Linked DNA regions of Homo sapiens: region 2 is linked to region 1. The links are contacts of gene promoters, found by promoter capture Hi-C in human tissues and cell types (Jung and others, 2019). All regions are on one chromosome and are shown on one strand. The core of a region is centred on a gene start or on the middle of the fragment in contact, and the rest is flanking DNA. Distances in the headings are between cores, read along the strand shown.

Region 1 (6,363 bases), core at 1,029-3,528:
ATTTATGGGGTGAGCACCAAAGGGCAGCAAAACCAAAAGACATAATCATCCTCAAAGACAATGGTTAAAAACACCTCTTTGGAAAATAAAGAGTTAAATATTTGTGAAAACACACCCAATAGTGCCCACTACTCCACTCCTTTCACCCAGTCACATACTCTATAATCTTAGTGAGACCTCTGAGTCTGAAAAATAAGCTGCTGCTTCTACCAAATAAAGCTAACGTTTATCATAAGGCAACATCTACAAATAATTCTTTATTACATTCAAACAGGAGACAGCAATCTAAATTATACAAAATGTCTAACCCAAAAAATCATGAATTAAGCTTTTTGTACTTACTTGAGTAGGGCTGCATCTGGTTTCTGGGAAATTCACCACACAAAAAGCAAAATAACGGAGACAATCTTTGAAGGTCAGACTCAACAAGAGTTAAAAGCTATTGAGCGTCTCTATTTTGCCCCTCCCCCAAAGGTCCTCCCCCTCAATTCGGCTCTCAAAGGATAGCACCACCATGTGAAATGTCCTCCTCCCCATCTGAATCTGCTGAAATCCTACTCATCCTTAAAGGTTTCACTTAAATGCCGAGGCTTCCATGCATTCCTCCCTCAATTTAGAATTAATCTCTCTTCTTCGCTCTCCTATTCTATACCTCAACATTTTACTATATAGTTCACTGTATTACACTTACCTACATTCACTAACCCCCCGCACCGCACCCCCAAAAAAACCACCCCGAGGAGGAAAGGAATTTAAGGTGCTGTTAAACACCTCTATGCCAGGCAAGGTGCTACGCATTTTGCATACATTATCTCATTTAATCTACATGAAAAACATCTGGGGAGGTAAACAGGTGGTGTTATTCCCATTTTACTGATAGGGAACGTACTGCAGAGTTCAATAGCTTATCCAACTCACATTGCAAGCCAATTCCAGGGCGTACGGTTTCCCCCACTCCGAAGAGCTCTTTCCACCACCCCATGCTTGTTCACCTGGTGTCACCCAGCCTAACTGACAGAGTAGGTATTCCATAAATGTTTGCTGAATTTAATATCCCCATGGACTGACTCTTTAATAATCCGATCACGCCTCATCCCTAACCCGTTACCTTTACTGTTCCTTAACGGTGGACTTTACCTACATAAGCAGCTCTCCACATTTCCCTGAGAAATGCTGCAGACAACATCAACCCTTATTGGAAGATTGAGTGAAGAACTTTTCCATTCTCCCGGATTTCCCCAACGGATCTTCCCAAAGAATTTAAGAAATGCACACACGCAAGACACATGTAACACTTACACCCTCCCTCAAGGCTCTTATTTCATATTAAACCATGTCTTCGAGCTTGTAAGCAATAAGGTTTATGCGGTTTCCAGCTCACACAGTGGGGACACCCTAAGTCACTGCCTTAAGAAAACCACATCTTTCAACCTGTCTTAACACGAAGGCATCCTAATACTATCACACTGCCCCCTCCCTCCGTCCACCCCCCCCCCCCCCCCATGAATTGCAGTTTGGATTTCCGGCGGGAATGTATAATACAGACCGCAAGAGGAGACGCGGTTAAAAAGCAATGAAGCAATTACTTATCCTGTTTAATTAGAAAGAAGACACAGAAGGAGCCCCGCCTTTCAAAATCTCTGCACTGAACTCATCTATGAAAGATGGGGGCATCGAAACCCAAGCAACCCGACATCCAGTAGCTGGTTTCTGCAGCTGGGCGGGGGAAAGTCCTTTCCTCCCTGCGGTCCCGGGCCACCAGCCCCCGGTGCTGGGTCGGAGAAGCCTAACCGCACCCTCCCAGGCGGCCCCTTATCTCATTGTCTCCCTCCGTCGCGGTCCCCAGGGGCGCAGGGTGCAGTCCAGGCCCCACCGACCTCCATCCACCAGCCGGGAGCGGTCCAGCCAGCCCCGGCCCGATCCCCAACCTGGCAACGACCCCGCCCCAGGCTGCCGCCGACCGTACCGCACCCGGATGGCGGGGCCGGGCGCCGGGAAAATGGAGGCGGGAGCGGCAGGAGCGCCTCACGGCCCCGCGCCCAGCCGGCTCCCTACCCCCTGGCCCCGAGGGCGAGGCTAACCACTCACCGCGGCAGTCGGTCGGCCTTCCCGCGGCCCCGGGCAAGGAAACCGCCGCTCGCGCTCCTCCAGCCGCTGCCTCCGCCTCCTCCCCAGGCGCGGCGCTCCCTCGCCAGAGACGCAGCGACTGCCAGCAGCTCCCGCGCCGCGCGCTCAGTGACTGACTGACTGACTGACTGACTGACTGACTGACTGACTGGCGGGCGGCGGCGGGAGCGGGGGCGGGGCGGCCGCAGCGCCCCGCGGCGGCGGCGGCGGCGGCGGAGCCGAGTGTGCTCGCGTCCAGCCGAGACGCAGAAGGCGGGGTTGAGGGCCGGACTGCCGACTGTAGGGCCGACTCGCGCGGGACCGCGCGCCGCCCCCGCCCGCCGCCAACCACTCACTTCCGGCGCAGGCCGCCGCGCCCGCCGCCCTTCCCTAGCCCGCGCCCCGCGCCGGCCCTCCGCCCTCCCTTCAGGCGCCCGGCCGCGCCCGGCCGCACTCAACCGCGGCTCCGCTCGTGCCTCGCCTTTCCTCCGCAAGTCCCTGTGAGCCGCCTACAGGAACGAGTGAATCAGAGAATGAATGAGTGGGGAGGAAAATCCCAGTGCTGCCCCACCCCCTGCTCGCCTTTCATAGGAAGCCGGCCCAGCAGCCTCTGTCCTAGCGCCCTGGGAGGCACAGCAGCCTCCAGCAGTTCTGTCAGGGAGCTGTACGCATCCACCTTTATACGCTGTCCGTGTATTCAGAGACTCCAGAAACGCATCCGGGGTTGGCTCGGTCACTTACAGGACCATTGTCGTTGAGATCTGTGAGGCCCTTCTTTAGGAAATCCCATTTTGGCCAAAAAGTCTCTGCAGTTTCATGGAATGTATTGGGAAACTTAGGAACGGGACATTTCGATGACCTTTACTTTTTAAACTTCGAAATCTGTTAATCCTGCCTCCTTAATTTCTGTCCCCCCACCCCATCGGAATTGTGTAGTAGTAAGGTGTCGGCATTTTTCCTTATCGCTAAGCTCAGCTGCTGCCTCTTTAGATGCAGGCTTGACTTCGGCAGACTTTTAGATTTTAAGTATGTCCTTATTTTGACCTTCACCTAAAGTTGATCAAAGAAAGGAACAAATGGAACTAAGTTATGTTTGCTTGGCTACATGCAAAGCAAGTTTGTTGACAGCATTAAAACAATTGAGAAATTGGGAGTGTGACCTGAAATTGGTTGCAATGAACATTGCTTTTTCATGTCTTCCCATCTGCTTGCTAAGAATTTATTTAAATTTTCACAAAGCATTGACTGTACATTCCTGAAATCCTAGCTCCCTCTCTAAGAATGAGAGTGTTCATTTCTCTGTCCTGGGGCCAAATCCTGGTTTGGTTAATTACATTCTTACTTCCTGATATTCTTGAGGACTTTCAAGTGGTTTCAGTCTTTTTTGTACAATCTGTTCCAAACTGGTACACAATCTGTTTCAAATTGGTATTTAGAACCATACAATACAGATACTGGCTGCCTTTCACACTTGAGATATCTGTACTTTTGAAACATAACTGCCCTTTTGTATTTTAAGTTCAGTAGGTATGTCAATATTCTTGTATAGAATAATACTATCTCTTGACTGGATTAAGAAAATGTGGCACATATACACCACGGAATACTATGCAGCCATAAAAAAGGTTGAGTTAATGTCCTTTGTAGGGACATGGATGAAGCTGGAAACCATCATTCTCAGCAAACTATCGCAAGGACAGAAAACCAAACACCACATGATCTCACTCATAGGTGGGACTTGAACAATGAGAACACTTGGACACAAAGCAGGGAATATATCACACAGGGGCCTGTTGGGGGGATGGAGAGGGGGGAGGGATAGCATTAGGAGATATACCTAATGTAAATGATGAGTTAATGGGTGCAGCACACCAACATGGCACATGTATACATATGTAACAAAGCTGCACGTTGTGCACATGTACCCTAGAACTTAAAGTATAATAAAAAATAAAAATAATAAAAGAATAATACTATCTCTTATAAATGAAGATGATCCTGCTGACCAACTTCTTTTAGACTTCTCTTCCTTTCTTGTGGGAATCATCATTTGCCACCTAATTATTTCAAGAAGTTATCCTCCAAAAGTGAATATAATACAACACTTTATTCATCCTTGTATCTCCCACAATATCTAGCATAGTATCTTGCACAATAAGTATTTATAAATTAATAAATGCTTTAAAATTTTTCATAAGTGATAATTTTATACAAATGTATCTAGTCTTTCACCTCATTTCCCTTGTGACCAAGTTTGTTGACATTAGACACACCTGGGTGCCAAACTTAATGAATCCTATTGTCATTAAATGTACTAGGCTGTGTGATACCTTACAAGGAAGATGATTCATTTAAACCTCCTTAAAAAAATAGACGATTGAAGCCAGGAGTGGTGGCTCGCACCTGTAATCCCAGCACTTTGGGAGGCTGAGGTGGGCGGATCACCTGAGGTCAGGAGTTGGAGACTAGCCTGGCCAACATGGTGAAATCCCATCTCTACTAAAAATACAAAAATGAGCTGAGCATGGTGGCGGGTGCCTGTAATCCCAGCTACTCAGGAGGCTGAGGCAGGAGAATCACTTGAACTTGGGAGTGGAGCTTGCAGTGAGCCAAGATCCTGCCATTGCACTCCAACCTGGGTGACAAGAGTGAGACTCCATCTCAGAAAAAAAAAAAAAATAGACCATTGAGTGCCTTTTACATAGGTCTTAGCCAACTCTTCTCCAAGTGCTTAGCCTAAGATCAAGGTTAATTAAAAGAGAAAAAAGGTCACTTTCAGTCATTGAGAAAAGAGTGTTCTCATCAGTTTCTTTAAACCATTAAATCATTCGTTCATTCAATCAGAGTTTATTAAGCTACAATTAAGGCCCAGGAATACAAAGACAAGAAAGACGTGGCATGATGCTTCCTGCCTACAAAAAGCATACAGTCTAGTGGGTAAAGCAGGTAAGGAAGTCATTGTTAGACTGGAAGTCCATTACCAGATCAGGAAAGCCTTCCTGATGGGGAGATTCTTGAACTGAATGTTAAATGATAGGGAGGAGCTAACCAGAAGAAGGAGGGAACAAGCATTCCAAACGAAGAAAACAATATCTCTGCAGGTGTGTGGAAGCACCAAGCATCACCATGCTTTAGAGGCACCGTAAGTGTATTAGTCCGTTTTCATGCTGCTGATAAACACATACCTGAGACTGGGAAGAAAAAGAGGTTTAATGGACTTACAGTTCCACATGGCTGGGGAGGACTCACAATCATGGCAGAAGGTGATGAGGAGCAAGTCACATCTTACATGGATGGCAGCAGGCAAAAAGAGAGCTTGTGCAGGGAAACTCCCATTTTTAAAACCATCAGATCTCATGAGACTTATTCACTATTATGAGAACAGCACGGGAAAGACCCACCCCCATGATTCAACTATCTCCCACTGGGTCCCTCCTACAGCAGGTGGAAATTATGGGAGCTATAAGATGAGATTTGGGTGGGGACACAGAGACAAACCGTATTAGTAAGTAATTCCATTTTGTCAGAACAGGCATAGAGAAGAGTCAAAGAGGTTGGAGGAAAGGGTAGGAAGGGCTTCATTCATGAAGGGGCTCTTGTTAAACTAAGGAATTTGAATTTGATACTCTGGGAAATGTAGTAAATAATAAAATATTTGAAGTATTTTAGCTCCAGAACAACTGAGTTTGTGTTTTGGAGACCAAGAAGACCAGACTGGAGCAGGAGAAAATTAGGAGGTGATGGCAACAACCTGAATCCTAATGAGATGTGTGCTGCAGGTCTCAATAAAATCAAGAGGTCATAAAATGGCGAGGAGGGACTAGATGGGAGATATATTAAACAGGTAGAATCTACAGAATATATAACTGGATATGAGGGAGTGAATGCAACAGAGACATTTAGAATGACTCTCAGGATTCTGGTTTAGAAGAGTGACTGAATGGTGGTGACCTCTGAAATAAAGAGCGTGGGAAAAGAGCAGGTTTCAGGGAACTGGCTGAATACCTGTATGAGAAAGAATAGTACCATAAATCCAGGCATCTTAGTCCATCATTTCCCCAAGTGTTCTTTGGAACTCTAGTCCCACAGGATTTTAGTAGATGTGATTCCCCCTCAAAATTTTAAGTTCCTTTAATCAAATGAGAATGCCAGACAGTTCAATGGGTTTCTAAACTAGAGAGATTTCTGGTGGTTTTAATATTTTAATGTGCACTGGGAATTTCTGAGGTAGATATTATATACAAGCGCTTTCCAAAT
Region 2 (6,363 bases), core at 2,081-4,580, 190 kb after region 1:
TTTCAAGATAACAGTCAACAGAAAACTAGATGAAATGACCACAGAATTATTTTTAAACCATAACTTGCATTATTATCATTATTATTACCATTTTTTCATTTTAACATGAATTTCTGGGAGAGAGAGGCTGGGTCCATTCAAAGCATGGTAGGTCATGAATAGCTTTGTTTTTATCTTCATTGCAGCTCAGAGAGGATGGTGAAAGGTGCTACAGTCTGGTGAATGTTTTGTACTTCTCTTTCTCTTATCAGAAGGAAGCCAGGCCACCAGCTAAGGTTATCAGAGCCATAGACTGTTGAGTCCCCCTTTCTTCTCAGGGAGCACGGTTTGTCTCACAGTTTCCTGAGCAACCACCGGGTTGTCTTGTGGGGGAGCCTACCCCTTACAGAGCCTGAAAAGGAGCCAGTGGTCAGATGGTCACGTGTTGAAGGGCATCCTGGGCCTGAACAGGAAATATACTCAGAGGAAAGTTACAGTAACTTAACTAGCTCTGTGGTCAGGAGGGAGGTGCTCTTCTATGCCAGGGAAATCAGCATCACCTTCACAGTGTGCTCACAAATATCACAGGGCAAAATGGCTGAAAGTAGAAGCTTTCATTGTTTTTGGTTCCTACCTAACATGTGAAATTCTGTTCAGTCCGAATTTTTAAAAGGAAACAAGATAATTAGAATCTTACAACCTGATTTTTCAACTGCAAAAGAAAGTCAGACTATGATGTGCATAAATGGAACCTGATAAAGTTCTTAAAGATTCTGGAGGAAAATCACATTTTGCTAATTAATCATGTATTCCAGCTCTCTAACTGCTTCTTTAGCTTCCCAGTACGTTTTATTTCTCTATGGTGCTACGATAAAGAAAAGGAAAAACTATGACAAACAAATGTAATTCACAAAAGCCCTGAAGTTAAGGATTTTCCTAGTGAAGTTCAGACTGAAATGTGATTTCATGTGTTGACTCATGTCTATGTTCAATCCCTTTTGTATACTTGGGTAAGCTAGAATGGAAGATCTCAATGGTATAATTATTACTTGTGCATCAGAAATAATTTATAAGATTATTTGATGTGATCATACTGTCTGTAAGCCTTATCTGGGATCCATCTATGACCTTCAGGAAATCTTCAAAATTGTAAGCAAAATGTTTTGTATATGTGCATTAGAGGCAAAAAATTTGGAAATGTATTTTTTTCTAGATATGAGCATGAAATAAATTCAGTCTTGCTGAATGAACAAAGTTGTTTTTCTGTCCATTTATGATTTAAAACATTACTCCTAGATGTCTAAATAAATAAATTACATCTTAGCTCTTCCATTATTTGTGTGACCTTGTTTGAAAAGTCATTTACTTCTTCTCTTTTTTTCCCCCCAATAGCCTCTTCTTTAAAATAAGGAATTGGCATAGATCATCTCCAAGTTCCCTTCCAGTTGAGTGTGGTTTTTTGCAGGATAAGACTCTAATAAAATAGTGGGGAAAATGAAATGTATTTTGTTCTGGTCCTCTTCCCATTCCATTCACTCCCCTACTTAATGGTAATCTCCTCCCTAACCCTCACTCCAGACATCTGGTACCATCCTCCCTATCAAGTCCAACTTTGAGAGGATCTAGAACCAATCACTGCAATTGTGTTGAAATTTTGATGCAACATGGCAGAAGGAAATGAACAATAGATTAGAAGTCATAAGTTATGAGCTTAAATTTCAAGGATCACTTATGTTTCCTGTAACCTTGGACAACTCATCTACCTCTTTGACCTCAGTTTCCCCATGTGTAAGATGGGCATAAAGATGACTGTCCTGCCTATTTACTTCACAGTTGAATATAGAGTTCAGATGAGATAAGAGACAGCATTTTATAGCCCTGTGAATGTAAGCCATAGATACTAAATTAAGCCAATGTGTTTCCCATATTGCATTTTGGGCTTCATTTTCTTTGGAAATCTAAGCATTAACTGAGCTGGTGGGAGGGTCCTTTTAAGGTCAGGGTTCTTTGATGCTGGGAGCCACACCTTAGAGGTGGTTACCACCCCACCTATGCAGAGGGTTGACCTCATTACTAAATATGGTAATTGACCCGTTTATAATAGGTGTAAACGGCAAGAGTTGTTTTTTTTTGTAACCAAGCTTCCCCACCACCCACTGCCATTCTCATGGAAGTTCAAGCAACTTTCAATTTTCCTGAAGTCGGCTGTTTCACAAGATTCACAGATTATCTGTGGGAAATCTTTTAGCTCTCAGTACCTTGCTCACAAGCAGCAGATAAGTACCTTCTCACCTCCAATCTCACTCTTCATGTTGCCTGTTGTTAAGCAGGAGCTGTGAGGGAAAGAGGTTTGAGGTTAGTGCTTCCTGTCTCCACACCTTTAGCTGGTTTAGCTGCTAGGAAAGGCTTTGAAAAGCAAAGCACTAAATTCACCTTCAAAACAACTTGTCAATTCAGTTAGAGAAATGTCAGTCAGACCAATCTTTTGATAACGTAAGCAAAGAAAATGGATGGGTTGACAATGTTTCTTTTAACCTAGTAGGTTTGACCTAGGTAGACCTTACCTGAACACTCACAAGAAGTAAAATCAAATATTCACAGGGAAAGGGCTGGGTCTCCTGATACCCAAGTAGCCTAAGAAGAATGCCTTCCACTCCTAGCATGAACTGGAAAGCAAAAAGAAATCAAACACAAGTTAGGACGAGGGAGCTACATATTTGGGTTTCTTCTGAGTCTAGATATGTCCTTACATTTGTAATATGTCCTTACATTATTTGAAGTACTGTGGATTTTCAGAAACTCAGAGACCGAAAATACATATCAAAGCCAAATGTCATCTGATATTCTGATTATCAGCTACTTTGATTTCTCCATGTTTTTACTTCATAGAGCAAGGGGTGTGCATTTTTACACATGCCCCATTTTAAAAGAAAATAAGAGAAATCAGAATTATTGTGTTTACTCAAAGTCACAATGATCACACATATTCAGTATCACTTAGAGTCACTGGTTATCTTTTTCTAGCACCAAAAGTAAATTTCTCTCATTTACTGTCTTGCAAAGCATATAGAGATTTTGAGGTCCTGTGAGATAGTTTCCTATTTAGGCTTCTCTGAATTATTGACATGAACCAAGGTGGGACCAAATGCTATGAGGATATAAATATTGAGAAACGAGATTTTATCAGCCAACCTTGAACTCAGCTTGAACTCTAAACTAGGAGGCTGTTAGCTACATGTTAACACATAGTAAGCAAACGATTTCAAGCACAGTATCTGTGTTTGAGAGCCAGCTAATTTAAAAATGATCTATGTTGACAAAGAAGAGGGAGGAAAGTAAACATGAGCAATAAATTGGATGGCTTTTCCTCAAATGGCCTTATCGAAAACAAATAGTTTTCAAGCTCTTTTCCAGCAAAATCTTAGCACTTTTCTGCATAAAAGCCTTCAGTAGATCTTCATCACCTTCAGAAGAGAGCCCAAGCTCTCTAATGGAGTGAACTATGCTTGCTCTGACAATCTTGTCTTTTGTAACTCATGGCCCAGCAAAAAGAAGGTAGCTGTAATTCCCCAAGTCGGCCACACTCTTACCCTCCTCATCTCCCTTGCCCAGACTACTCTTTTTCTCTCTTTGTCTTATCCTCCCCACAGTCCCCTAACTCACCCCAGCCCAAACACACACTCTCCCACCTCACCCCAGTCCCCAACACAAAGACACGTCTTAGCCAGGCTAACTTTTACTTAGTAAAAGTTGGTCAAATCCATGTATGCATACTCCTTCAGGACTCAGGTCAGCCGTCATCTCCTGAGATCCTTAGCTGGTTTCCCTGTTGCCCCCGGAAGTTTTGTGCAGATCACTGTGTCACTATGTTTAAAGTAGGGTCTATTTATATCTTTCTTCCCCATCAGATCATGAGCTGCCGTAGGACGGGAATTGAGTGGCATTCATTTTTGGGAAATCAATTCTTCTCTCCCATGTGCATCTTAGGAACATGTCACACCCTGAGTTAGACAGGACATATTCAGCAAACCACTGGACTCTAGATGCCACAGCTTTTCTTCCTTCCTCTCTCTCCCTTCCCTCTCTCCACCTCACTGTGTGTGCTGGGAGAGGGAGTCAAACTGGGGAGCCATCTGGGGTTTCTCTCCAGCCCACCCACACTCCCTTTTTTTGTCTCCACAAAGAAGTCCTATTCTCATTCCCATCTTTTTCTTTAAATCAGCTCACAAAGGCAGATCAGGAAGAATTTGAATGTGCATTAAAACAGAATCCAAATAATTAGCAATAGAAACACAATTCCCAGGGCGGTGAGCAAGCAGAATACAAATGCCTAACCTGCACTCACTCTCTGAAAAGGAGGAGAGATGCAGGCATTGCTTGCTGGAGTTGGTTGCTCTTCCAATTAGAACTGACCTAATGACTCCTTCTAAGTAAAAAAAGGAAACAAACAAAATAAATCAAAAACAAAAAAACAAATTGGATGTTTGTATTAAGACAGGTCGAACTTTTTGATTCTTTGCATGTTTATTTTTCAGTGCTTTTGCAAAATATTTGTGGAACAAATAATAGGTGAAGTTAAAGTTGTTGACACAGGTTTCCAAAAAGGATTTAATGAGATGGTAGTCAAACCTAGCTGCTGATAACAACAATACAGCCGAATCACCATCTTTCACTCCACAATTATTTTATGAGAGTCTATTAGTCATACTGTGTTATGTAAAGAAGCATAACATGTGGTCCTTTCTGTCAAGAGACTTGGAAACCAGGGGCCTAAGGGAAATGCACATGAATCCAAAGCTAAGCAAATTGAAGCATGTGAAACAAGAGTTGTTTAAAAGGTAGAACTCAAATGTCAAGTGAGCGATACAGATAGTAATCATTTTGAGACCTGAGAAGGGAGTGGTGCTCTGTGCCAAGGAGTTAGTAGACAAGGCATGGAGGTAGGAATGCTCACAGTCTGTTCTTGGGATGTTGGCTTAAATGGTCTAATTAGGAGGGCTTCGGTTTGAGGAAATGAGGTTGGAAAAACCTGTGGAGGCCGATTTGAGGATAAGAAGTTAGTTTTCCTCTGTTAGGCCACTGGTTCTCAAATTTGACTGCCATCTAGAATTACTAGAGAAACTTAAAAAATATGAATGGATGCCTGGGTCCTATACCTAGAGATTCTGATTTAATTGGCCTTGGAAAACCAAAGGCTTTTAGATTTTTCCAGGTGATTCTAAATATGTTGTCAGGTGAATTCCACTAGGCCATAGTGGCTTTCAACCCAATTGAATATTAGAATCAAGTGGGGGAACTTTTAAGATAATATGAAAGACAATCCACAGAATGAGAGAAAACATTTACAAATCACATATCTGATAAGAAACTTGTATCAAGGCTGAGGCAGGCAGATCATCTGAGGTCAGGAGTTTGAGACCAGCCTGGCCCACATGGAGAAACCCCATCTCTACTAAAAATATAAAAATTAGCTGGGGGTGGTGGTGGTCACCTCCAATTCCAGCTACTCGGGAGGCTGAGGCAGGAGGATTGCTTGATTCTGGGTGGCAGAGGCTGCAGTGAGCCAAGATCATGCCACTGCACTCCAGCCTGGGTGACAGAGTGAGACTCTGTAAAAATAAAAAAAAAAAAGTATAAAAAATGCATACAGAACTCCAATAATTCAATAATAAAAAGATAAATAGCCTAACCAGTTAATAAATGGGCAAATGATCTGAATAGAGAGTTCTCTAAAAAGAATAGACCAATGGCTAATAAGCACATGAAAAGATGCTTAGCATCATTAGTTATTAGAGAAATAGCAAATCAAACCATGATGAGATATCACTTCACGTCCACCAGGATGGCTATAATAGAAAAGATGAACAATAACAAGTGTCGGCAAGGGTGAGGATAAATTGGAGCCCTCATTCACTGCTGGTGAGAATGTACAATGGTGCAGTTGCTTTGGCAACAGTTTGACGATTCCTCAAAAAGTTAAACATAGAGTTACCATATGACCCAGCAATTTTACTGCTGGCAAATACCTAAGAGAGTTGAAAACATACGTCCACACAAAAATCTGTATGCAAATGCTCATAGTAGCATTATTCATAATAGCCAAAAAGTGATGAATAGAAAAACAAAATGTAGTATAGCCATACAATGGAATATTATTTGGCCATGAAGAGTGAAGTTCTGGTGCATGCAACAACATGGATGAAACTTGAAACATGGATGAAACTTGAAAACATTATGCTAAGTGAAAGAAACGAGACACAAAAAGCCACATATCGTATGATTCTACTTATAAAAAAAGTCCAGAATAGGCAAATTCATAGGGCCAAAGTAGATCAGTGGTTTCCAGGGATTTAAGGGAGGGAGGAAGCAGGGTGATGGTAAATG

What was found. The method cuts DNA at HindIII sites, captures the fragments that hold promoters and counts their contacts. A contact is called where the count stands out against the background at its distance.
Region 2: a fragment that was not itself captured here is called in contact with the fragment with the promoter of RAPH1 in region 1 in 1 of the 25 tissues and cell types used here (mesendoderm cells).

What each region holds. Positions count from the first base shown.
Region 1 is chr2:203,533,023-203,539,385 of GRCh38, forward strand. RAPH1 (Ras association (RalGDS/AF-6) and pleckstrin homology domains 1) reads right to left here and starts at 2,279. Exons shown (of 14, transcript NM_213589.3): 1 at 2,089-2,279. RefSeq lists silencers at 2,048-2,147, 2,218-2,307, 2,358-2,427. The HindIII fragment of the contact is 20,173 bases long and covers 1-6,363 here.
Region 2 is chr2:203,717,892-203,724,254 of GRCh38, forward strand. All of the region lies in intron 1 of CD28 (CD28 molecule), which reads left to right. Among named protein-coding and RNA genes, the nearest start is that of CD28, 14 kb to the left of the region's middle. The HindIII fragment of the contact is 6,145 bases long and covers 259-6,363 here.